Linked DNA regions of Homo sapiens: region 1 is linked to region 2. Evidence: promoter capture Hi-C in 16 types of primary human blood cells and fetal thymus (Javierre and others, 2016). All regions are on one chromosome and are shown on one strand. Each heading gives the region's core, a stretch centred on a gene start or on the middle of the fragment in contact. The rest is flanking DNA. Distances are from core to core; before and after follow the strand shown.

Region 1 (6,799 bases), core at 1,506-4,005, 620 kb after region 2:
CCGAGGCTGAGAGAGGCGACGCGACCTGCATGGGGGTCCAGGCCTGTCTGGACCAGAGCTGGAGCTTCCCACGCTGCGCTCGGACCCCGGGCCGCGGGGCCAGGGCGCTGCGGGTGGGGACCCCCGGCGGCGCAGGTGCCCGGAGCCGGCGACAGCGAAAGCGCGGTGGGCGTGGGGTGCTCACCTTGACGATGAGAGGGTTCTGAAACATGGAGTCCCGCACGACCCCCAGCCGCTCGTTCTCCATGCCGGAACGGATGTCCGCCACGGTCAGGGGCCGCCGCGGGGGCGGGCAGACCTGGCTGACCGTGCGGCGCACAGGCTGCTGCTGCTTCCTCCATCGCGTGAGGTCCGGGCCGGAGCTCCTGGCCTCTGGCATCCTTGAGGTCGCCGGGGAGCCGGCCCGCGGGCTGGTTTGGGCGCGCTTCCCCACGTCGGGCACAGCCTGGAGCTCCGAAGGGCCTGCCGGGCGGCCCGGGCCGCACCACCGGGATCCTGAGGGGGAAACTCAGATGCCAGGACCCCTCCGGAGCCAGGCGCGCCCCGCTCGCGCCGGCCCCTCATCGCAAAGAGCCCCGGAGCAATGCAGGAGCCCCGCGGGATCCTCAGGGCGTCTCCTGGGCCCCGCGTTGCAGACTGGGAGAGGAAAGAAAACCAAGACCACCCCTGGAGGACGAATGCAACGGCCCGTCTCCTTGGCGACGGGACGCCAACAGAGCCCGGCTCGGCTTGTACTTTTCTTTCAAGAAACTCTTGGTGGCTACCAGTGTGGACTTGTTTGGAGTTTTCCTGAATCGATACAGGAGAACCGAGAATCTCCAGTGGGTTGCGTTCAAAGCGGCGTGGCTCATAGAGGGTCATTTACATTTGTCTTCCAAGTCGAAGACTCCATCCTCTGCTCACCCCCATTCCACTCACAACCCCTCCCCACCTCTGCTCTTTGCGCCACACACACACCTGAGACAGAGCACTAAATGCATTCCAAGCCTGATGCTGATGCTGACCCACTGGGAGGACTCGGGCAAGTCACCCTCTTGGATCCTAAGGGCTTTTTTTCTTTTTTTCCTGTGAGATGGGTGACAAGGAAACGCTAGAGTTGGATTACATCAATGGTTCCCAAATTTAAGCAACAGAATGAAGGGAAATTGAAAAATACAGATTTGGGCTGGGCTTGGCTGCTCACCCATGTAATCCCATTGCTTTGGGAAGCCTAGGAGGGAGGATGGCCTGAGCCCAGGAGTTTGAGACCAGCATGGGCAACATGGTGAGGTCTCATCTCTACCAAAAATTAAAAAAATTACCCAGGTGTGCTGGCACACACCTGTGGTCCCAGCTATGGGGGAGGCTGAGGCAGGAGGATCACTTGAGGAGGTTGAGACTACAATGAGCCGTGTTTCGGCAACTACATTCCAGTCTGGATGACAGAATGAGACCATGTGCCAAAAAAAGAAAAACGAAGATTCACAGGACTCACCCCAGACTCACTAAATCAGAATATCTGGAAATGGCATCTGAGGCTCTCCTTTTTTTTTTTTTTTTAAGAGACGGAGTCTTGCTCTGATAATGACATGAGCCACCTCACCAGGCCAGATGCTGCATTTTTAAAAATCCCCTTACCCACCCACCCACAACTTGGTGAAAAAGTTCAAACCTACAGAAAAGTTGAAAGTCGAAAGAAGAATACAATGAAAATACATATAGGCTTCACCTAGATTCGGTTAGATTTTGAAGGGAAGGGGAGGGTTAAAGAAAGAGTGGCGGCTCTACAGCAAATTCAGGCTTTATGTCCAGCATGAGACCTACAGAGGTGGGAGACCAGCTTAATGCCAGTGCCTACCGCTGCTTACAGGCTGGAGAAATTATAGGCCTGGGCGGGGAGGGGCCCGGTGGGTATGGCCTGCTGCCCGGGAAGATGTTGATAAGGTATTCCCATGATGAGGCAGTTTGGCCCTTGTTCTGGTGGAACGTGATGTTCCTGTCACTTTCTCCCAGCAGAATATGATAAGAGGCAGGCTGTTTCTCACTGCCTGAACCCCCGTGGAATGTTTCACTTTAAGCAAGGTCTGCAAAATGGCAGGGGGCTTACAAAATGGTGCAGTTTGGACTAACAGATTCACCCGTCCCCAGCACTGGTCACATTTTCTTGCTCTCTCTCTGTGAGCATGCACATACACACATTACAGAATCACCTGAAAAATATCTGTCAACACCATATTTAACCCTAAGTACGTCATCATGTAGCAAGGACATTCCCATGTGTAACTACAATGTCATTATCATGTCCGAAGATTTTAATGTGATACAATAGTGTTTAATATAAAATCCATTGCAAAGTTGAGACTCTGCATTTGAAAAAAAAAAAAAAAAGCTTCCCAGGTGATTGGTGCAGTTGGAGGAGGATTGGAAACCACTATTGGAGTTTTCCTGAATCGATACTGGATGATATCTAATCTCTCCTCTAGTGCCAGCCTTTTGTGGGTTCATTCATGCATCACTAGCACCACAAGGCTCTGGGTAAGTGGGGTCACCACAGAACACGTGACACCAATGACGGACCTGGACTTCAAGGCCTTCCATATCAACAGTGGACAACACCACATTTACAGACTTCTCCAGACGGAGCTCCAACTGCACGTCCACATCCCAGAGCAGCCCTTGCATGGCAACATGAGTACATACATAGGCTCATCGTTTCTCCAACCTGCTTCCCTTCCAGACTTTCACGGAAGCATAGTTTGTGCATTTTTTAATCAAAGCCACTTGGCAGATCACATAGAAGTCAGGTGGAACAGTGAGGGGCAAGATAGTGGAGTAGTAGAAAGAGCATAGGTCTGATTTCTGGCTGGCCCATTTAAGTCACCTTGGACAAGTTACTGTAAACCCAGGTTTCTCATCCACAAGGTGGGGCTAATAATACCTCATTACAAGGATTAAGTGAGAAAACTTGTTGCCTATATCGTATATGTTCACTATCCAAAAAGGTTAAACGTTTGGTTGGTAAATATAATGGCCTCGAATTGATGGCCAGGTTAAAGCTGCCCTTTTGGCTAAGTCTCTTCAGGACTCTGTTGAAATGGGAAGACTGGGATAGATCTCCAAAGCTCCTGCTAACTCTAAACTTCTGAGACTTCATCCAAGCTTAACATCCATCAGCCTCTGCACCAGATAGCCCCTGCAGACCTCTGACTTCCTCTCCCACCCCCTCCCCTGCATTCACATGCATTCACTTAGGCTGGGCGTGTGCGACCTGTCTGTCACCCTGTGGGTTCACTGTGTGGATTCACTCTGTGCTCCAGCTGCTCTGGCCTTGTCCCAGGTCCTCCAGCAACCAAGTTCAGGACTTTTGCACTCACTTCCAGCCTGGAACACTCTTCTGCCTAGATTTTTTGCCTGCCCTTTCCATTTAGAACTCAGTTCAAATGTCACCTCCTCAGTGAGCCCTCTCTTACATCTAAAGTAGCACCCACCGTCCCCTAGTCACTCTCCATCACGTCACCCTGTTTTATTTTCCTTACAAGATAATCTGAAATTATCTTAGTTGATTTGTCATCTGTCTTCCCAAGTTGTTCCTGGAGTTCACCAAAAACTGGAATAAATGGAATGCACGCATGCATTAGTACGTCAATGGAGGGGGATTCTGTCCTACTTTCTTCGTTTCAGGAGCACTCTCTACCCCACCTGACGTCTAAAGGACCCAGAAGGAAAATGGGTAGGCAAATGTGCGCGCCTCCAAGGCCTAGCGGCAGCCGTGTTACCATGGCAGCGTGACGCCGAGGGGGCCGGAAGGCGACGCACTACTACTTCCGCTTCCTCAACAGCAGCACTTCCGGGTTGGGAGAAAGGTGGCGGCGCTTTCGGAGGGTAAGTTGAAAGCGCCTTTGTTGTTTCTGTTTTTCAAAATGCGCGCGTAAAAACTCAGCGTGGGGTGGTGGGTTTCCCCGTCTTCTGGGAGACCCGCCTTTTGGCCTGAGGTCTCCAGGCCGCGGTCTTTGCCCCAGGCCTTATCTCGGGGAAACTGAGGCTTGGGTGTTTTTTTTTTTTTTTTTTAAAGATGGAGTTTTGCTCTTGTCGCCCAGGCTGGAGTGCGGTGGCGCGATCTCGGCTCACTGCAACCTCCGCTTCCTGGGTTCAAGCGATTCTCCTGCCTCAGCCTCCCGAGTAGCTGGGATTATAGGCGCCCGCCACCAAGCCTAGCTAATTTTTGTATTTTTAGTAGAGACAGGGTTTCACCATGTTGGCCAGGCTGGTCTCGAACTCCTGACTTCAGGTGATCCACCCGCCTCGGCCTCTCAAAGTGCTGGGATGACAAGCGTGAGCCACCGCGCCCGGCCGCGGCTTGGGTCTTTGGGAGTGAGAAGATGCAGAATTCACATCTGGTTAGTTCCTCCAGTCTCAGCCCTGGAGCGCCCACCCGGGAGCAGAGCGGGGTCTCTCTCGCACCCCAAAGGCGGTGAGAGAATCCGGGACCAGGTTTGGGCACGTACCTGCAGAGCGGGAAGTGTATGTTCTGAGTAAGGGGGGATAAATGCATATCCGTTCTCAATATGTATCGAGCACTGACTGGGGAGCCATTTGGGAGCAAGATGGCCAGGATTCCAGCCCTCAAGAAGCCGATCATATTATAACTGCCAAAAGTGCAATGGGGAGCAGCTGGTTGTTGGGAAACACTGTTAACCAGAAAGATGAGACCGGCTAAGGAGTTAGAGAGGTCCTCTTGAGAAAGTGGCTTTCATACTTGGACCAGTTAAAGGGCAGAAAGGTAATGCGGAGGAAGAGCTTTCCTGATGGAATGGGCTGTTTTTGCAAAGTTCCTGAGACGAAAAGGAAGGTAGTGTATTCTAGGAACTGAAAACAGCAGGGTTTCTGAAACCTAGAGAGAAGTGAGAGGTAGAGAGGTGGGCATGGACTTACCTCTGTCCATCTCTAGGCTAGATTATGAAGAAATGAAGACTCTTGCAGGTCTGTGAGGATTTTGACTTTATCTTAAGAATAACAGGGGAACCCTAAAAAGTTTTTAGCAGGGAGAGACTATATATTTAGAAGGTTGTACTGGGCTCCAGAGACCAGAGAGCAGCCTAGGAAGTATTTACAAAAAAGAAGGAAAGGAACTGATGGAAGGGGAAATGTTATTTAAAGAAATCAAGGCCGGGCGCTGTGGCTTACGCCTGTAATCCCAGCGCTTTGAGAGGCCGAGGCAGGTGGGTCACCTGAGGTCAGGAGTTCAAGACCAGCCTGGCCAACATGGCGAAACCCCGTCTCTACTAAAAATACAAAGATTAGCCAGGCTTGGTGGCTTGCGCCTGTAATCCCAGCTACTACTCCGGAGGCTGAGGCAGGAGAATCGCTTGAACCCGGGAGGCGGAGGTTGCAGTGAGCCGAGATCGTGCCACTGCACTCCAGCCTGGGTGACAGAACGAGATTCTGTCTCCAAAAAAAGAAAAAGAAAAAAAGAAAAGAAAAGAAATCAGCCAGTGGGTGGCTCACGCCTGTAATCCCAGCACTTTGGGAGGCCGAGGCGGTTGGATCACAAGGTCAGGAGATCGAGACCATCCTGGCTAACACGGTGAAACTCCGTCTCTACTAAAAAATACAAAAAAATTAGCCTGGCGTCGTGGCGGGCACCTGTAGTCCCAGCTACTCGGGAGGCTGAGGCAGGAGAATGGCGTGAACCCGGGAGGCAGAGCTTGCAGTGAGCTGAGATCACGCCACTGCACTCCAGCCTGGGCGACAGAGCAAGACTCCGTCTCAAAAAAAAAAGAAAAAAAAGAAATAATCGGCTTTGCTCTGTTTGTGATTTATTAAGAGGTCCTAAAAGATGGGCCTGAAAAGTGTCTGTTGAAATTTGTGGCTTTAAGAACAAAGGCACTCTTGCTGGAACGGTCTCAGTGGAGTAGTGGGGTGGGAGCTACCAGGATGTGGGTTAATAAGTGGATGAAAGGTGAGGTAATGGAAAGAGTGATTTCTCTTTCAGGAAATGTTGCTGTGAAGGGGAAGAAAGAGAACAGCTGGATGAGACTTTAGGGTTAAACGACAGTTGCATTTTTTTTTTAAGTTAGAGGAGATTAAATATTGTTGGCATTTTGCTAGAAAACGCAGGCTGAAGATACAGGAGAGAGATGAGAGAGAAGATACGGAGAGACCACCATCTCTCTGAGAAGGCAGGAGAGGGTTGGGAGCCAGCACACATTTTCCTTCCTATAACGGAAGGAAATAGCCTTTGACAGAAGGGACACTTCCTTTGTTGCAGCGAGACAGAGAGAGAGAGGATGTGGCAGTGCAAGTAGGTGTGTTAGACTTGGGGGAGTAACATATTCCTTGTCTAATACAGCTGATATTTACTACCCCGGATAAATTAGGTAGCTTCTGTAGAAAATGTGCTTAGCATTGAGACTTTAAAGACCGCTGATATAGAGAGAGCTCCAGGATCTATGTTGTTAGGTGAAAATAGCAAATGCAGATCACAATATATAGATGTTAACCTTCTGTGTAAAAAAGGAGAGGAAATATGAAGATCATTTTTATTTTTGTACGACGTAAATGTGTCATTTAGCCAAAGATAAATCTAAAAAAATGAAACCCAGAAGCAATACAGAGCAAAGAGAACAATAAGACATGTTTGCAAAATTATATTTTTAATCATCTCTTTTGGAAAGTGCATTTATATTTCTGTATTTTAATTCCAAGTGCACACACCCTGTATGTGAGTATTAACGTTAGTGGCTTGTGAAATTTATTCCAGTGTATCGCAGAACGTCCGCTCTTTGTTGGACACTAACAAGGCATATCCAACTTCTTTCAC
Region 2 (6,603 bases), core at 2,143-4,642:
GTGCAGATACGAACAAGCTCAAAGGCAGCTATCCGATGTAGTTAAGTATCCATGTCCATATCGCAGACAGTCAAACAAGTATAAGTATGGAGCCTTAAAGGGCCCCTGTGGTGACTGGGCAAATGTTTGGTGGACCAGTCAATATGGGAGGCGGACAGCCAACCCCCCTCCTTTAAATAAGTTGCGGAAACTCAAACAAAAACTCTAACTTATCCATCGCTCCACTCCACCAAATTGTAAGCCACTGCGGTGTAACCCCTTATTGCTAATTATAGATAATCCCCAAACAATGGCCCAAGAACCCTCTGTATTCGGACGGTACGGGTTAGGAGCAGATGTTACAGGACGGGATCCCATAGGAACCCTCTCTAAGGTTGACTGGACCATCGGCGGTTAAAAACAATGAAGAAACCCAGACCCAGAGTCCAGGGAACGTATGGGACCCAACGCTCTCCCCAAACATATCAGGCCCAGTGTTCCCCTCCGGTCTCCACAACGACCCAGCCAAAGTAGCAGCTGTAGAAGTAAGAGACCTAAAGCAAACTCTAGCAATTGAAACAGGGTACTGAGATGCAAACGCCTGGATGGAATGGATTAAATATTCTGTCCGCACTTTAAACAAAAGTGATTGTTACACTTGTGCACACAGTAGACCAGAAGCCCAGACTGTCCCCTTTCCACTTGGATGGTCCTCCAGACGAGTGGGCATGGGCTGTACGGTAGCTCTTTTCCAGGACCCCACAGCCTGGGGTGATAAATCGTGCCGAGCTCTCTCTCTGCTGTTCCCTGAGGTTCAACACCCTGCGGGTCAGCCCCTGAGGGCTATCCAGCTTCTGTCTCCCAGTGCCAATTTTACTTTGTGTCTCTTGTGACAGGGAAAATTTGGCATTCCTTGGGGACCTAACAGGATGCAGTGAGCTTAAGCCCTTCCAAGAGCTTACCCATGAATCTGCCCCTAGTCATTTATCCTGAGCAGATGTATGGTGGCATTGTGGTGGACCGTAACTGGATACTCTGCCAAGTAACTGGAGCGGTACCTGTGCTCTGATCCAATTGGCCATCCCTTTCACTCTGGCATTTCATCAACCAGAAGAAGTAAAAACAAGACACCGTAGAGTAAGAGATGCCCCCCGTGGTTCCTTTGACCCTCGTGTTTATACAGATGCCACTGGAGTTCCCCGAGGGGTACCTGATGAATTTAAGGCTTGTAATCAAATAGCTGCGGGATTTGAGTCTATGTTTTTCTGGTGGTTAACTATAAATAAAAATGTAGATTGGATAAGTTACATCTATTACAACCAGCAACAATTTGTTAATTATACTAGGAATGCTATCAAAGGAACAGCTGAACAACTAGGACCCACCAGTCAAATGGCTTGGGAAAATAGAATAGCATTAGAAATGATACTAGCAGAGAGGGGTGGCGTTTGTGTCATGCTTGGAACCCAATGTTGTACTTTTATCCCAAATAATACTGTTCCTGACGGAACCATAACAAAGGCACTGCAAGGTCTTACTGCTTTATCCAATGAGCTAGCTTAAAATTCTGGGATAAACGATCTCTTCACTGATCTAACGGGAAGATTGTTCGGCAGGTGGAAAGGACTTATGTCCTCGATCCTTATGTCCCTTGCCATTGTAATAAACGTGTTTATTCTCGTAGGATGTTGTATCATACCCTGTGCCTGAGGGTTAATACAAAGACTTACGGAGACAGCTCTCACTAACCTCCAATTTCCCCCCGCCTTATTCAGACAAACTTCTACTTTTAGAAAACCAAGAACAGCAAAGTCGAGACATGCTAAAAAGGTTTGAAGAGAAAGAAGTATGAAAATCAAGAGGGGGAAACTGTTCTATACAGTGAATTCTTCTTCAAAGGTTCAGCTTGTTCAACTCCCTTGTTCTTTGTTCTCCATCTTCAAAGTCTAACTTCCTTGTTCTTTGTGCCTCCTTGCCCTTAGTTACCCGCTCTGTTTAACTGCCCTTCCCGCCGAAACTAGTCTTCCCACCGAAATCGCTCGTCCCGTCACTGTAACCCACACCCCTGTTCTATTTAAAATAGCCAATTGAGATTAGCTTAGATTGTGTGGTCCAACTCCAACCAGCAGGGACAGGACACAAAAACAGGGACTGACTGCCTTAGGGATAAAAACCCATTCCAGGCTGGGCACGGTGGCTCACGCCTATAATCCCAGCACTTTGGGAGGCCAAGACGGGTGGATCACCTGAGCTCAGGAGTTCAAGACCAGCCTATAGGACACAGTAAATTCCACTTCAAAGATTTTAGCCTTTTACCTTCCTTTAAATTCAAGAGGGGGAAAATTAATAAATACAATGAGTTATGAGTTCCATTTCAAAGAACCAATATGTCAGTATGTTCAGCTTCCCTGTTCTTTGTTCTCCATTTTAAAGTTTAACCCCTCGTTCTTTACGCCTCCTTGCCCCTAGTTTCAGTAAACAACCCCTTCCTAGCTTCTATCACCTGCTCTGTCCTTAGTCATCCTGAGTCACCTGCTCTGTAACCATCCTTCCCACCAAAACTACTCACCCCGCCACTCAGGCCTGTGCCCCTGCCCTCTTTGAAATAACCAATCGGAATTAGCTTAGACTGTGCGGTCCAACCCTAGCCAATATGGGAAAGACACAGCAGTAGAGACTAGCTGTGTAAGAGATAGGAACCCCTTCCCCTTCCTTGTCGGTGTGCTCTCGCCATTGCTCCATCCGCAAGATGCACCCTTCTATAGAAGGAAATTTGCCTTGCTGAGAAAACTGTTTGCCAGAGTGCTGATTCTTCTTTGCGGCACCCAAAATTTATTTCCAACAAGCCTGACCAACATGGTGAAACCCCCTCTCTACTAAAAAATACAAATTTAGCCGGGCGTGGTGGCATGCGCCTGTAATCCCAGCTACTCTGGAGGCTGAGGCAGGAGAATCGCTTGAACCCTGGAGGCGGAGGTTGCAGTGAGCCAAAATCGCACCACCGCACACCAGCCTGGGAAACAAGAGCGAAACTCCGCCTGAAAAACCAACAAAAAAACAAAAACAAAAACAAAAATCCTTCCCTTCTTTGTTCTGTTGGCTCTCTTGCAGCGGCCAGAAGAGCGAGCAGCACCCTTCTGCGTAAGTAAATTTGCTAAATTTCCCTTGCTGAGAAATCCTTTGAGTGCTCGTTTTCTTTGCGACTCCGAGCTCTTATTCCAACACCGAGATTCCCAGCCCCTTACCCGGGAGACGCCTTCCTCGCCGCCCAGAGTCGGCAGCATCTTAGCCACATCACGCACCACTCCCGGGTACTCCACGCACACCATGCGTCGCTCCCGCCTCAGCTCCACGGGGACGGCGGCCCCCAGCCCCAAATCGGCCGCCTCCGCCGCCATCCCTGTGCGTCTGGCAGGGCCCGCCAGGGTCCGTCCCACAAAGTACTCCCAAAGGCCTCGCCTCAATTGTTCCGCGAAGGAATCGTTCCGGGCTCCCTCACCGCTCGCGTCATCCTAACTCCCCGGGCTCAGCAAGACGCGAGGGCCTCCAGGGAGCAAATGGCCCATGGGAGGGCCCATGTCTTCGGGAAAACGACCGCCGTGTCCTCGACTTTTTATTTAAAATTAAGCGAGTTAGTCCACCGGGCGGGGCAAGCACCAGTCTCTCCTACTAGCCAGCGAGGGACCCGGAGGATAATAAGACACAAACCTCCCTCGACTTCAGCCAATGAGAATCCGAGGGCCGAGCGAGTTTTTTTTTGAGCCAATGAGAAGTCCGGAGGAAGCTAGGTCCCACCTTCTCCTCCAGCTTCGTACGTTTTAACCAATAAAGAACTAGAGTTAACCACGTCCCAGCCCTCTTCTGGGTATTCCACCCAATGACACCTCGGGGGCGGGCCAGAGGCAGACTTCCGGCCCGCCTGCTTGGTGGGGAAAAGGTCCCGGCTGAGAATTGATTTCCGCATTGGGTCGGCCTGGTATTCTGTCGGTGTTGGCGCTTCTTCTCCCAAGCTCTTGCAGCCCCCTCGGGACTAGGTTTCCAACGGCGCTTGCGGGGGGCCTCGCGGAGGTGGATGTGGAAAAGGCGAGCGCGGGGGAACTGTGCTGTAACCATCGCCCCGCCTCCACAGAAAGCCCCGAAGCGCCGGCTCGGGGCCGAACGCGGGCATCCGGCGTTCGTCTGTTAGGCAGGCAGACATTAAGCGCCTACTGTGTGCTGGGCCCTACTCAAGACCCAGGCGGGGAGAACGGCGTCTGTCCGGTAGGCGCCCAGGGCTGCTGCAAAGCCCCGGAGCGAGGAGTGTGGCCCCTCAAACAGGGAGGAGATGAGGTCCGAGGCCGACCGAGGTCAGAGACCCGCACCCACGAAAAGGGTCCACCCGTCGGGCTGGCTGCTTCCCAGTGCCGTGGAGAGCCCCTGAAGGTTTCTTTTTTTGAGAAGGAATCTCGCTGTGTCGCCCAGGCTAGAATGCAGTGGCGCTTTCTCGGCTCACTGCAACCTCCGCCTCGGGTTCAAGCTATTCTCGTGCCTCAGCCTCCCGAATAGCTGGGATTACAGGCGCCTGCCACCATGCCCGGTTAATTTTTGTATTTTTAGTAGAGACGAGGTTTCACCATGTTGGCCAGGCTGGTCTTGAACTCTTGACCTCAAATGATCCGCCTGCTTCGGCCTCCCCAAGTCCTGGGATTACAGGCGTGAGCCACCGCGCCTGGCCCCTTGAAGGGTTTTATGCGGAGCAGTGATCCCATTCATGCATTTGAAAGACCTCTCTGGCTGTTGTGTGGAGAACAGATCAAAGGGGGAGAAAGTGAGTTCAGATAAACCAGCTCCGAGACTGCATAATCCAGTCAAGAGATGAAGGGACTGGGTTTGAGAATATTGGGAGATGAGAATCATGGCCCAGCACAGTGGCTCACGCCTGTAATCCCAGCACTTTGGGAGGCTGAGGCGGGAGGATCAGTTGAGCCCAGCAGTTGGAGGCCAGCCTGGGCAACAGGGGAAGACCCCATTTCTACCAAAAAATACAAAATTAGCCGGCCATGGTGGTGCATGCCACAGTAGTCCCAACTACTCAAAAGGCTGAGGCAGGAGGATCCTTTGAGCCCTGGAGTTGGAGGCTGCAGTGAGCTATGATCATGCCACTTGCATTACAGCTAGAAATTAGTAAGAGCAAGTGACCCCTTGGGTATGGGTACCCCGTTTCTGAAGTGATTTTTTTTTTTGAAAGACACGATCTCCCTCTGTCACCCAGGCTGGAGTGTAGTGGTGTGATCATGGCTCACTGCAGCCCCGAACTCCTGGGCTCAAGTGATCCTCCTGCCTCAGCCTCCTGAGTAGTTGGGACTACAGGCGTGCACCACCATACCCGACTAATTTTGTATTTGTGTGTGTGTGGCGACGGGGTCTCACTATGTTGCCTAAAGTCATTTCTTTTTGTTGTTTGTTTGTTTTGAGACAGAGCCTCACTCTGTCACCAGGCTGGAATGCAGTAGCACAATCTCGGCTCACTGCAACCTCCGACTCCCTGGTATAAGCGATTCTCCTGCCTCAAACTCCCGGGTAGCTGGGATTATAGGCATGCGCCACCACGCCCAGCTAATTTTTGTATTTTTAGTAGAGATGGGGTTTCACCATGTTGGCCAGGATGGTCTCGATCTCCTGACATCATGATCTGCCCACCTCGGCCTCCCAAAATGCTGAGATTACAGGCGTGAGCCACCGTGCCCAGCCTGTGATTTCTTAATCAGAAGAGTACCTGATTGCTCTCCTTGGGTTTAAGAAGGCAGAATAAATAGCTACATGAATTCAGCCCACTGAATACATTCTAAAGTGTAACCTCAATGTGAAATATATTGTATTGTAATTGGAAGGCTGGGTCAGGAGCCCCAAAGCTTTGAAAGAACACCTCCTGAGAGTACAGTGGGAAATCAACCACCAGCAGATGATGGTTGAGCTAGAAGAACCACGTGTTTCCACAGGGAGCTGCACACGAGGACCCGGTGGTCCCTGACCTGCCCTCTCCAGGGGGGACCTGCACTTTCTGCCACCAAAGAGGATTCTCTGTAGGGAGGCCAGGATGATTCTCCAGAATTTACCATGCCTTGAGATGAAATTTCCTTTCAAACTTCCTTGTGTCCTTTTGTCCTCATTCCATGTTCACCAGTCTTCTGACTGTTTCATTTTCCAGAAAGGAGAAACTGAATAACATGTATATTTTAACCTTGCCTGCAATTGTAAATCAATAAATTGGTGTATTTACATCAGATCCCTGTGAGTTTGGTGCACATAAGACAGTCATGAAGACTTGGTCACTGTTGGTAGAGTTGGCCAATAAAATATTGAACACAGTTAAATTTGAATTCATGCAATATTTGGGGCATATTTATACTAAATATGTGTTATCTGAGATTCATATTTAGCTAGGTGATTTTTTAATTTGCTAAATATGGCACTCCCACCTCCGGGTATTGAGATTGAGTTTCTGAATTTGGAAAGCTGATTCCAAACCACCTGGAACCTTAGTGAGCCCACCATGCAATCCAGTGACCCTCTAGTTTGTCTGCTGTATTTTTCCTCCTTACTGAAGCAAGAGTGATCTTTCCAGAATGAGATCGCAGTCTGTCC

Evidence for each region. The method cuts DNA at HindIII sites, captures the fragments that hold promoters and counts their contacts. A CHiCAGO score of 5 or more calls a contact.
Region 1: a fragment that was not itself captured here is called in contact with the fragment with the promoter of GTF3C5 in region 2 in 1 of 17 cell types (fetal thymus); the score reaches 5.5 in fetal thymus.

What each region holds. Positions count from the first base shown.
Region 1 is chr9:132,403,852-132,410,650 of GRCh38, reverse strand. TTF1 (transcription termination factor 1) reads left to right here and starts at 3,811. Exons shown (of 11, transcript NM_007344.4): 1 at 3,811-3,861. CFAP77 (cilia and flagella associated protein 77) reads right to left here and starts at 440. Exons shown (of 6, transcript NM_001282957.2): 1 at 185-440. The coding sequence starts at 379. It overlaps LOC105376304 (a long non-coding RNA gene), which reads right to left and starts at 10. Exons shown (of 3, transcript XR_930405.2): 1 at 1-10. The HindIII fragment of the contact is 770 bases long and covers 2,371-3,140 here.
Region 2 is chr9:133,027,786-133,034,388 of GRCh38, reverse strand. It overlaps GTF3C5 (general transcription factor IIIC subunit 5), which reads right to left and starts at 3,392. Exons shown (of 11, transcript NM_012087.4): 1 at 3,225-3,392. The coding sequence starts at 3,377. It overlaps LOC105376306 (a long non-coding RNA gene), which reads left to right and starts at 3,967. Exons shown (of 2, transcript NR_135119.1): 1 at 3,967-4,239; 2 at 5,958-6,237. RefSeq lists enhancers at 3,372-3,631, 3,076-3,727, 3,962-4,211. The HindIII fragment of the contact is 8,183 bases long and covers 1-5,872 here.